Linked DNA regions of Homo sapiens: regions 1, 3 and 4 are each linked to region 2. Evidence: promoter capture Hi-C in 16 types of primary human blood cells and fetal thymus (Javierre and others, 2016). All regions are on one chromosome and are shown on one strand. Each heading gives the region's core, a stretch centred on a gene start or on the middle of the fragment in contact. The rest is flanking DNA. Distances are from core to core; before and after follow the strand shown.

What was found. Contacts are between HindIII fragments. The CHiCAGO score rates a contact against its expected background, and 5 or more counts as called.
Region 1: a fragment that was not itself captured here is called in contact with the fragment with the promoter of PSMA8 in region 2 in 2 of 17 cell types (activated CD4 T cells and naive CD4 T cells); the score reaches 5.8 in activated CD4 T cells.
Region 3: a contact is called between a fragment that was not itself captured here and the fragment with the promoter of PSMA8 in region 2, in 1 of 17 cell types (activated CD4 T cells). The highest score is 5.1, in activated CD4 T cells.
Region 4: a fragment that was not itself captured here is called in contact with the fragment with the promoter of PSMA8 in region 2 in 1 of 17 cell types (activated CD4 T cells); the score reaches 5.2 in activated CD4 T cells.

Annotation. Positions count from the first base shown.
Region 1 is chr18:26,334,043-26,336,742 of GRCh38, reverse strand. TAF4B (TATA-box binding protein associated factor 4b) reads right to left here. Exons shown (of 15, transcript NM_005640.3): 13 at 1,512-1,568. Among named protein-coding and RNA genes, the nearest start is that of LINC01543, 88 kb to the left of the region's middle. The HindIII fragment of the contact is 807 bases long and covers 976-1,782 here.
Region 2 is chr18:26,132,565-26,135,264 of GRCh38, reverse strand. It overlaps PSMA8 (proteasome 20S subunit alpha 8), which reads right to left and starts at 1,396. Exons shown (of 7, transcript NM_001025096.2): 1 at 1,198-1,396. The coding sequence starts at 1,299. The HindIII fragment of the contact is 6,300 bases long and covers 844-2,700 here.
Region 3 is chr18:26,363,136-26,365,835 of GRCh38, reverse strand. The region is part of intron 14 of TAF4B (TATA-box binding protein associated factor 4b); the gene reads right to left. Among named protein-coding and RNA genes, the nearest start is that of LINC01543, 59 kb to the left of the region's middle. The HindIII fragment of the contact is 529 bases long and covers 1,045-1,573 here.
Region 4 is chr18:26,274,494-26,277,193 of GRCh38, reverse strand. TAF4B (TATA-box binding protein associated factor 4b) reads right to left here. Exons shown (of 15, transcript NM_005640.3): 4 at 2,370-2,531; 5 at 2,141-2,263. Among named protein-coding and RNA genes, the nearest start is that of TAF4B, 49 kb to the right of the region's middle. The HindIII fragment of the contact is 616 bases long and covers 1,070-1,685 here.

The sequences.
Region 1 (2,700 bases), core at 130-2,629, 200 kb before region 2:
TGGGATACCCATGATTCAGAGCAACAGTAGGTTGCCCATCCCTAAATAATCTATCCTCATGCCAGGTTTGCTTAAAGAGAATTATAGGTACAGTTCTCATACTAATAATTTTAGATACATTTTCCACTGGAAAGACATCAGTATAAGGAATATCTTGTTGCTGAAAATAAAATGTTTCTGCTCTCAACTTTTTTTTTAAAGTGTTCTCCCTTTCCATCGTTCCCTGTCCCAATCCTGAAATCCCTCCACCCAGAGTTCATGTATTTTCCTTCTCTATGTTAATGAAAACACACCACATTGATTGTAAGAATCTTACTAGATTTCCACTTGTTTTGCCTCAATTCCTACATTAATCCAAACAATAAGGGCCTTTAAAACGTTCATAAATAACCTGCTGCTGCTGGCACCTAGGAGCCAACTGCAGCAATGTTAAGCAACAACAAATTTCATAGTTCAAGAGGCACAGTTAAGGGAAAAGGTTGCTCAGAAAATCACTCTTATTTAGCACAAAGATCCTTAAAAATTGCATGAAATCAGTGAAGTAACTATAGAAACCAATTTCTTCAGCTCCATATCACACGTCTCACACCTCAATTGTCTTTATTATCATCTGCTGTCAGATCCTTAATCAGAAATGTGAACAGGCTTGATGATTTATTCAGGAGGGAAAAGAATCTGTAGGTCAAGTGAAAAATTTCACACACACACCCATACACACACTGCACCTTCAACCTTAGGTACTTTCATTTCATTCTGTTCTCAGCAGCTCTGGGGGCAACTCCAGTGAGATCCAATATTAAGGCTCAATTAAAATAAGCTCCAATTAGTGGAGCTTTTTTCTCTGGGGCTAGAAAAGTCAGGAAATGGATATTGGGAAATGTAAAAAGTCAGCTACTGAGAGGAGGCTGCAGACATAAATGAACTTATTTGTTGATTTCTACAGTTGCTATGCAGAGGCCTCTGGGAGTAAAAGCTTAACCAGTCTAAGCTATAAACTAAAACCCCTGCAGCTAAACATGAACTGTGTGAAACAAGGGCTCCATTCCAGAACAGAAAACTGCTGGGCCCAGAAAATTAAAAGCCAGAGGCATTTTCCATTTAAAACTAAATCCCAGCACCGCCTCCCAGCCAAAGAATTATAAGCAGTATCAGATTTACAAAACGAACAATTACCCTGGAAAAATGTAGCCTATTGTACAGTCCCAGATGCTAAATCTCAAAAGTTTCTTTTTTTTTAAAATCTCACATTATATTCCTCCAAGTATGCTGCTGTAGTTTACAAAGACCCATTTCGAGACAGGCCTAAGCCTTGAAAATAAATTTTAAAAAGAGAGCACATAACTCATTGACCTCATTTGAAGTACTGCCCTTGCCTTTAGCAGTTCCTGTCCTTCCCCAAGGCTTCTGCAAATGGTATGCAACAGCAAAATAAACCCTGACCTAATTGCCAGGAGAGAGCTGCCAACCTTCCCTCAAACACAAAGACAAGCATGGTAACTTGAAAGTCCTACCTCTTTGGCTTTCTGCTTTAATCTCAGCTGTTCTGGATCTTCTTTATTAGAACGACTCTATCAAAGGAAAAGAAAATTTTAATAGAAATTACTAGCATCTGAACACCATAGTTGCCATTAAATATTTAATAAATGACAATTTTCTCTTGTGATTGAATATCTTAGCTCCAGGGGAAAATACCTCAATCCAGTCTAGCTGCACTCCCACCCTGGTTTCCCCTGCCCCCTCATCATCTGGGCTGGCTGCTGCAGTTCTAGCCTGGAGGAAGCTTATACTGAAAATGATGCTAACGATGTCAGTCAGGTCCAGTTGAGGCATGACGTTGTTCTTGTAGGAACACTGAAAACTAAAAAATTGGTGGTACAGATGAAGGAAAAGAAAAAAAGAGTAATTGTTGGTTTAAATGAATAAAAACAATCAATACTGGCTGATCTTCAGGTGAAGCCATTTGGGAAAACATAGGTATTTCGAGGACTATTAAAATCAAGAACCTGACTAACCTTGAACCAAATCTCTCTTTAAAGGTATAATTTCTAAAATTATAAGTAGAAAATACATCTCAGTATTTTAATTAGAATGTCTTATCATCTTTGGGTCCTCTATAGCACTTAATAGAATGCTGTGCACCATGTTCAATAATTGTTTATTGGATGTCGCCTTCCATAATACAGAACTGGCATAAGAAGAGAGCTGTTTTCTATGTATCAAGCTATGATGGAACAAAGGGTAGGGAACTTTATTTCTGACACCATGAATATCTGTCCACTGGAAAACATGTTTGGGATACGTATATCCTTTTTTCTCACCATGACAAAGTTATTTAATTGCTTATAAATCTGAGTATTTGTTCCATAAAATGAAACCTTCGTTAACTAAGGTAATATCTAGATAGCTAACTAAATAAAAGCTAAAAGTATTTTCATATTTAATAAGTTTACCTGATACATTTATTGATTTACCAGAACCTTTGGTTAAAGGAAAATATAAGAGATAGTCTTTAAATTTGAGTGCCTACTAATTTCAAACATCTTAAATATCTACACAAAATTCAACCCAAAGCTGGTAAAATTTTTCTTCATTTTAGTCCCCAATCTACTAACAAAATTTCATTTCAAGCGAAAAGATAAACTCTTTTGTTACTCTAGTTATAGTATCACCAGAGAATGAGTCTGTGTATATATGTATTTA
Region 2 (2,700 bases), core at 147-2,646:
ATAGGCTAGGCCTTAGAAGATTTGGGGTAATAGATCTTGTGTCACTAGGGCACTTTTGTCCTCTTTAATTTTTATAAATCACTAAAATTATTGAACGTAGTTAAAACTTGGCAGCAGTATTACTCCTACCCTGAGTATTTTTTAAGTTTTTCAGTAATGTGGATACATAAATCTAAGGTAGGGTGTAATCTCTCAAGGAACTTCCAGCATTATTTTTTAAGTGGCCAAAAAAGTGGAAGTTCTTGGACTTTTGAGCCTCTACAAGGCTGGGAAATATTGGGACAATTTTGGGATTTTTTTTTTTTTTCCCGAGACGGAGTTTCGCTTTTGTTGCCCAGGCTGGAGTGCAATGGCACGATCTCGGCTCACCGCAACCTCTGCCTCCCAGGTTCAAGCGATTCTCCCGCCTCAGCCTCCCGAGTAGCTGGGATTACAGGCATGCGCCACCACGCCTGGCTAATTTTGTATTTTTAGTAGAGACGGAGTTTCTCCATGTTGGTCAGGCTGGTCTCAAACTCCCGACCTCAGGTGATCCGCCCTCCTGGGCCTTCCAAAGTGCTGGGATTACAGGTGTGAGCCACTGCGCCCAGCAATTTTGGGATATTTTTAACGCGTGTGTTTGAACTGTGTTTTTAATCATTTCTTCATCAACAAAAGTTTAATTTTATATTGATTTAGTCCGTATTTGGGGAGCAGGTGTGGCCAACTTTTATTTTTTATTGTAACTGTTATTAAAAAACAGTTCCCAACATGAAGCAACTGTTAACTTTTCCAGGGGTCTCTGAACTACCAAGGAACTGGACCACGAGCGTTCAATAGGTAGGCTGTTACAGATTAGAAGCTTTCCCTATTGTCAATCACATCATTAACGTCCCTACACACACACACACACACACAGAGACACACACACACACACACACACACCCACACACACACCCTAGTTTTGCGTCTGTAGCTACCATGAAACAGAGGCAGTTGAACAGCAGAGATAGGGGAAATCTACTAACTTTTACTCTGCCCACTTCCGGCCCAAATCTAGAAGTCTGTCTCCCTAAATAAAAAGAACAAAGTAATTTTCACAAGTGTGGGAATCTCCTCTCTTGAGCTCCTAGGATGGAAAGGTGGGCTGGGGCAGCAGGGTAACGATGGCCTGACAGGTCAGAGCGGGGAATAGTCCGGTAATAGTTGCTTCCTCACCGCGGTGGATCCTTTCTTCACCGCTTCCTGGGCATATTCAACTTGAAAAAGGTGTCCGTCTGGGGAGAAGACAGTGATCGCCCTGTCATATCGAGACGCCATCGCACAGGACTACAAGGGCTTGCCACCGAGCTTCCCGCTGCTGCAGCTGAGGCAAGCGGGGAGCCGCCGCCAACACAGCGTGCTACCGCCCGGAAGCGCTTCCACACGCGCCTCAAGCTGCCTCCCGGAAGTCCCCGCGCCCGCGCTTCGGCTGCTTCACGGAAGTCCTTGCTCCTTTGGCTGCCTGCGGATGTCCTCGCGCTTGCCAGCCTTTGTCACCCAAGCAGTGCCTGTGAGTTGACGGCATTCTTCCCTTACCCTTCATGTCTGACGCATAGCGCATATCTCCATTTCCCCACTACCGTGTTGCCCCAGGGATGGTGTCACGGCACTCGAGTTATAAAAATAATATCAAAGATTAGGGCTTAAAAATGAGGTCTTCAAATATCAGATATTTTTGTTATCGCATACATGTTGGAGAAACTGTGGTAAGTTAAATATCAGTCCCTTCCCTTTGGTTTCAAATTCTAAATTTCCTACTTTTTCTTTCTCTCTCTCAGGTTAACTCTTGTTATTTGAACCGAAGGAAAGAAAGCAAACTTCAAAATATTGTTGCTTCTGATATTTTCTGCCTTGTGAGCAAAATAGAGCAGATGAGCAAATGGTCCGTTAAATAAAGCAAATAGTCCATCAAACTAAGCTAATGATGAGAATTAAGATAATGTTCTTTTTTTTGTTTTGTTTTGTTTTTTGTTTTTTGAGACGGAGTCTCGCTCTGTCGCCCAGGCTGGAGTGCAGTGGTGCAATCTCGGCTCACTGCAAGCTCCACCTCCCGGGTTCACGCCATTCTCCTGCCTCAGCCTCCGGAGCAGCTGGGACTACAGGCGCCCGCCACCACGCCCGGCTAATTTTTTATATTTTTAGTAGAGACTGGGTTTCACCGTGTTAGCCAGGATGGTCTTGATCTCCTGACCTCGTGATCCGCCTGCCTCGGCCTCCCAAAGTGCTGGGATTACAGGCGTGAGCCACCGCGCCCGGCCCAGATAATATTCTTTTAATTGGAGAAATTTTGTAAAAGCCCAAAGTATGAGACTTAAAAGATGTCTGGAAATTTAGCTATAGCAGAAACTCTTTACAACTTGCTACATTACTAACTATGAAACAACTCTGTCGCTTTCTCCTTATCAATAAAATGGGAATATTAAAAAATCTGCAGCAGAGTATTCTGAGCTTAATATGTGTTTATGGGCATAATTACATAAAATGGTGCCTGGTGGGCAGTAATAGCCAGGTAAGTTTAGCTATTATTGCTTTCCATGTGTTGTTTAATATATGCAGTTTTCCACTGGGGAGGATCTTAAAGTTGGTGAAATCAACTTTAACCAAAAAAAAGAAAAAAAGAATAATTTCCTCAAAAGAGGAAAAATTTGATTCCCTGAATTCCAAATACTTAAATCAGAA
Region 3 (2,700 bases), core at 60-2,559, 230 kb before region 2:
CCTGGGTGATAAAGCAAGACCCCATCTCAAAACAAAAAACAAAACCAAAAACATTCTATCAGGTACAGTCAAAGAACTATGTACAGCACTGAGTTCGAGAAGACCACCACAAGTCTGTTGCTTTGGAAGCCCTATCTTGCTACATACTGAAGTGATTCATGGAAAGACAATAGTGTAGAAAATAATTAAGTCCACAAATCGCTACTACCACCTTCTCTGAAGATGACAAAGCCACGGACTCTGTCTCACTCTGCCGTCTGCTTTTTCCTCTTACCTGGTATAGACACACATGTCAACCACCAGAGTTCCTACGGTTCATGGACAGACCCCTCTCCAGTACCATCCCTCCTCTCCAAGACACTCCCATCTAGCTTTCCAGACTTTCTTTTTGGCTACAAGCCGGAAGCTTCTGCTGCCTGCTGAAAATCAGATTCATGTAATTCTGATTTTCAATCAAATATTCTAATGTATTGCTAACTGAAGTTTCAAAAAAGTCCTTTCTACTTTTATCCTCAAGAACAGAATTATAGGCCAGGTGCGGTGGCTCACGTCTGTAATCCCAGCACTTTGGGAGGCTGAGGAGGGCAGATCACCTGAGGTCAGGAGTTCAAGACCAGCCTGGCCAACATAGTGAAATCCCATCTGTACTAAAAATACAAAAATTAGCTGGGTGTGGTGGCATGCGCCTGTAGTTCCAGCTACCTGGGAGGCGGAGGCAGGAGAATCGCTTGAATCCAGGAGGTGGAGGTTGCAGTGAGCCGAGATTACGACACTGCACTCCCGCCTGGGTGCCAAAGCGAGACTCTATCTCAAAAAAAAAAAAAAAAAAAAAAGAATAGAATTATAGAGTAGCACTTTAACCTGCTTCTAGAAGGAGAGGACATATACTAATACATATTGCAATTTCTTTATTTTGGTTAGCAAATTCTATTTTAACTAAAATGATACTATAAGCACCATGTAGCTAATCTGGTGCTGTAAACCTGATTGTTACAGAAATATCAGCATTATGAAATCAACTGAATTACACGATCTTAGGAAGCTTCATTTATTTATGTTAGTAAAAAAGCATTCAAAGTAAAATAGTATGCTGAAATTCCTTAATACTTTCATAGCTCCAAAAATTGATTTTGTATAATTTTTTAGACATGTTATTATGTAAGGTTAAAATGTAACTTATCTTTGTGCTAAAAAAAAACGTTGCTGGATCATTAATAAGGCATGCAAAATATTTGAAAGTATAGCTAATGGGGGAAAAGAGAATCTTTCTAATCCAAGGATCTCTAATTAACACAGGAAGTAAAGTGATTAATGTTTTAAAATTCCAAAGAACCCCAAACACATCACCGATACAATACATATAAACAATACACACATACAAATACTCTAAATCTTAAAGTAGGTTTTATTTTACTGTATCAATATCTGTACGGCCTACATTAATTTAAAAACTAATTTCATATATATAACTTCAAACCACAGCAGCAAAAGGAAAGGACACATTTCAAAGTACTCCCAAATAGTACATTTTAACTATTTTTCCACCCTCCTGCGACCCACTAGCCAATAAGCTTATGGTATAAATATCTTATTCAAAATTGTAATTGGTACTTGCTGCTCTTTGTCAGGATAACATAAGGAGATAGCAGCTGATGCTATTCAATTTTACCAAGACTTCAGAGAATATCAAGTGTAAATTTCCAAAGGCTAGGTTAATATATAAATTATACAAATAGATCATATTTAATGAGAAAAGTTTTGCTTTATCATAACAAAAAATACTCAAGGACAAAGGTCTAAAACTAATTTCTCCAATTTCTTAGCAACAATAAAGGTAATCTTCGAATGTTAAAGTGCTATGTTTTTGAATGTTACATTTTTTTAAAAACTACCATCATTCTATTCAATCTTCCCAACTGAGAGTGCTCCCTTTTAGTAGGAAAAAACCTGCATTCAAACTAAAGAGTTACCCTCTGAAGAACTAGATTCTACTCCCACTTCTCTCTGGGATTATATGCTGATTCTAAAAAATTTAACTCAAACATGTTAAGATTTCAGGTTCCCATCGATAAAGAAGCAAACAAAAAGTAAAGGCTTTGTTTCCAGAGTACAGAATATTGAAAGTAAAAATGGTTTCATACATCATTTTTGTGTTATTTGTGAAGAAATAAAGCAAGTGAATAAAGGTTTCTAACAATTGTAACTAATGCAAATCAGCAGTATACCTAAACATTGAAGGAGCATGCAATAGGGCTCTCTCCTCTCTCTCCTTTTTTCTTTTATTTTTTTCTTAGGCAGGGTCTTACTGTGTCACCCAGGCTGGAGTGCAGTGGCCTGATCACAGCTCACTGCAGCCTTGACCTCCTGGGCCAAGCTATCCTCCCTCCTAAGCCCTCCAAGTTGCTGGAACTACAGGCGCACACCACCACGCGCTGCCTTTTTTTTTTTTTTTTTTTTTTTTTTTTGGTAGAGACAGGGTTTTGTGACCCACACTCCTCAGCCTCTCAAAATGCTGGGATTACAGGCTGGAGCCACTGCACCCAGCCTGTCTCTCATTTTGAAAACAAAAATGCCTTTAAAGTTAAAACACCATGAATAAAAATCAACAACAAGGAAACTAGTGTTCAGCAAATTTCAAAATAATAATTGTACTAAAAATGTCACCAGCTGATTAAAGAAATAGATATTTTCAATTCAAAT
Region 4 (2,700 bases), core at 128-2,627, 140 kb before region 2:
GAGGATTGCTTGATCCCAGGAGGGTCAAGAAAGCAGGGAGCCTTGTTCACGCCACTGCACTCCAGCCTGGGTGACAGAGTTAAGACCCTATCTCAAAAAAAAATTTTTTCAATAAAAAAAGTTAAGCATTTTTCAGTTTTAATGTTAACCCCACAAAAAACAAAATGCCTTGGGGAGTCCTCAAGTTTTAGGAATTTAAAGGTATCCTAAAACCAAAATGTTTTAGAACTGCTGTTTGTCGTTCTAAAGTAAACAGATCTTAAAACTAGAGGTAATATTTAATTCCTAACTGTTTCTATCTGTCCATAAAATTCACACATATGTTTTGTGGTTAAAAAGTCTTTAATATTTTATGGGATACGTATTCATTTCCAACAGGTCTCTTCATCTAGAGTATTCCATTTCAGAGAAACAAGTCATCATATCCCCTTTCAAAACTAGCATACCTTGAAAAGGGAAGATCAAAAGCTCAATGTTTACTTTTAAAAAGACACCCGTAAGTTGAATTAAAAATTTGTTAGTATGAGGTATTTTAGACATCTGTAATAAAAACATCTTCCCAAATGAAAAACTAACCATTTCAAGTGTGCTCTAACATCTTACAGGCAGCATTAAAAACAGTAGTAAAGAAGGTATTTTAATATTTATAAACTATGCTTGTTTTTGCTGTATAATATTTGAAATATACACATTTTATACTTGGAAAAAGGGATAATTTTTATGTGAAAAATATAATTCTAATTACGTGGTGAGAGAAATCTGTATATTATAGTAGTTCAAAAAATCCAAATCCATTTGTTTGTTATATCCTCAGCATGTCTTAAGCATATAATATGAAATATTTGCTAACTTCTATCTCCACTCTTTTTAGTGCACCTACATATTTTACCTGAAAGAGGATGTAAGAAACCAAAGGCATATAATTTGGTAGCTAAAAGACACAGCATCTTGGCACTCATATAAACATCAACGATCATCATGTTTAACATTCTCATCTGCAAGATGAGAATCTTATAGATAAGGAAAGTGAGGCCTAAGAGCATTAACTAACTTCTGTGGTCCCAAAGCTTGGTGTCTATCTGGACATATAAGAACCGAATTTCATTATCTATTGATAGCCTGGCTTTCTGAGATTTCATAATTCTTTTTTCTTTTCTTTTCTTTTTTTTTTTTTTTTTGAGACAGAGTCTTGCTCTGTTGCCCGGGCTAGAGTACAGTGGTGCAATCTCAGCTTACTGTAACCTCTGCCTCCCAGGTTCAAGCCATTCTCCTGCCTCAGCCTTCCAAGTAGCTGGGATTACAGGCGTGCGCCACCACACCTGGCTAATTTTTATATTTTTAGTAGAGAAGAGATTTCACCATGTTGGCCAGGCTGGTCTCAAACTCTTGACCTCAGGTGATCCACCTGCCTCGGCCTCCCAAAGTGCTGGGATTACAGGCATGAGCCACTGTGCCCAGCAGAGATTTCATAATTCTAATAACAATTTCCTATTGACTAAATAATGAACCTTTTCTCCAAGGCCCTTTGTAGAGTAAGGGAGGCAAGACTGATGTACAGAAATAATATATATATCAAAACATCATGTTGTATACCTTAAACATATACAATTTTTTTAAAAAGGTAAATTTTCAAAAGAAATATACAATAGGTTTTTCTAGCCAAGATTTATAGTCTTTACAAAGCTTTCAAGAAGCAAAAAACAAAATTTATCAAGAACTACATTTAAAATAAATCTCAGGCCGGGCTTGGTGGTTCACGCCTGTAATCCCAACGCTTTGGGAGGTCAGGGCAAGTGCATCACTTGAGGCCAGGAGTTTGAGACCAGCCCAGCCAACATGGCAAAACCCCGTCTCTACTAAAAATACAAAAATTAGCCGAGCGTGGTGATGCACACCTGTAATCCCAGCTACTCAGGAAGCTGAGGCAGGAGAATCATTTGAACCCAGGAGGCAGAGGTTGCAGTCAGCCTAGATCACGCCACTGCACTCCAGCTTGGGCAACAGAGCGAGACTCTGTCTCAAAACATAAATTAAATAAATAAATAAATTAAATAAATCCCATTTAAAAATATGCATTTCCCAATTACAACATGTTATATGGATTCCTCCAGAATTTGCAGGATTTTATAGCACTACTTACCAAAAGTTGTTCCACCAGCTTCTTCACATTTTGCCCCATTTCTGGGGACTGTGATCCACTACATGCTAGTTTTATTAACATTGCAAGGAAGTTCTTGCATTTCTTCACATTTTCTAGCATTGTCTAAATATGAAAATGTAAATATAAGCAAACACAAGTGTTAGTGAGCAAACAATTCAAAAGAACTTGCAAGGAACAAGATTTATGTAAGGTGCAAGTAAGAGCTTACCGGAGAAAGATTAATCTGAACAGCTGCTGAGTTCTCTGCTTTAAGATTGGGCTCATTTGAAGGAGTGGATGATGCTCCCAAACTTGAAGGCTTCAGGGTAGTTACAGTATTCAATGGCTTTCCAGGAGTAACTGTGACGACACTGGTTGGCACAGCCACAGACTGAAATTAAAGGTATTAAATATTTAGGCATGTATTACTATGATACATTAGTGGGTGCCTCATTTCACACTCATCAGACAAGTTAATTTTGACATCTGTGGTTTTATGTTATGCTCTAGTAGTCTAAGGCAATATAATACAGTTCTAGGAACTCTTGAGTCTAGCAGAT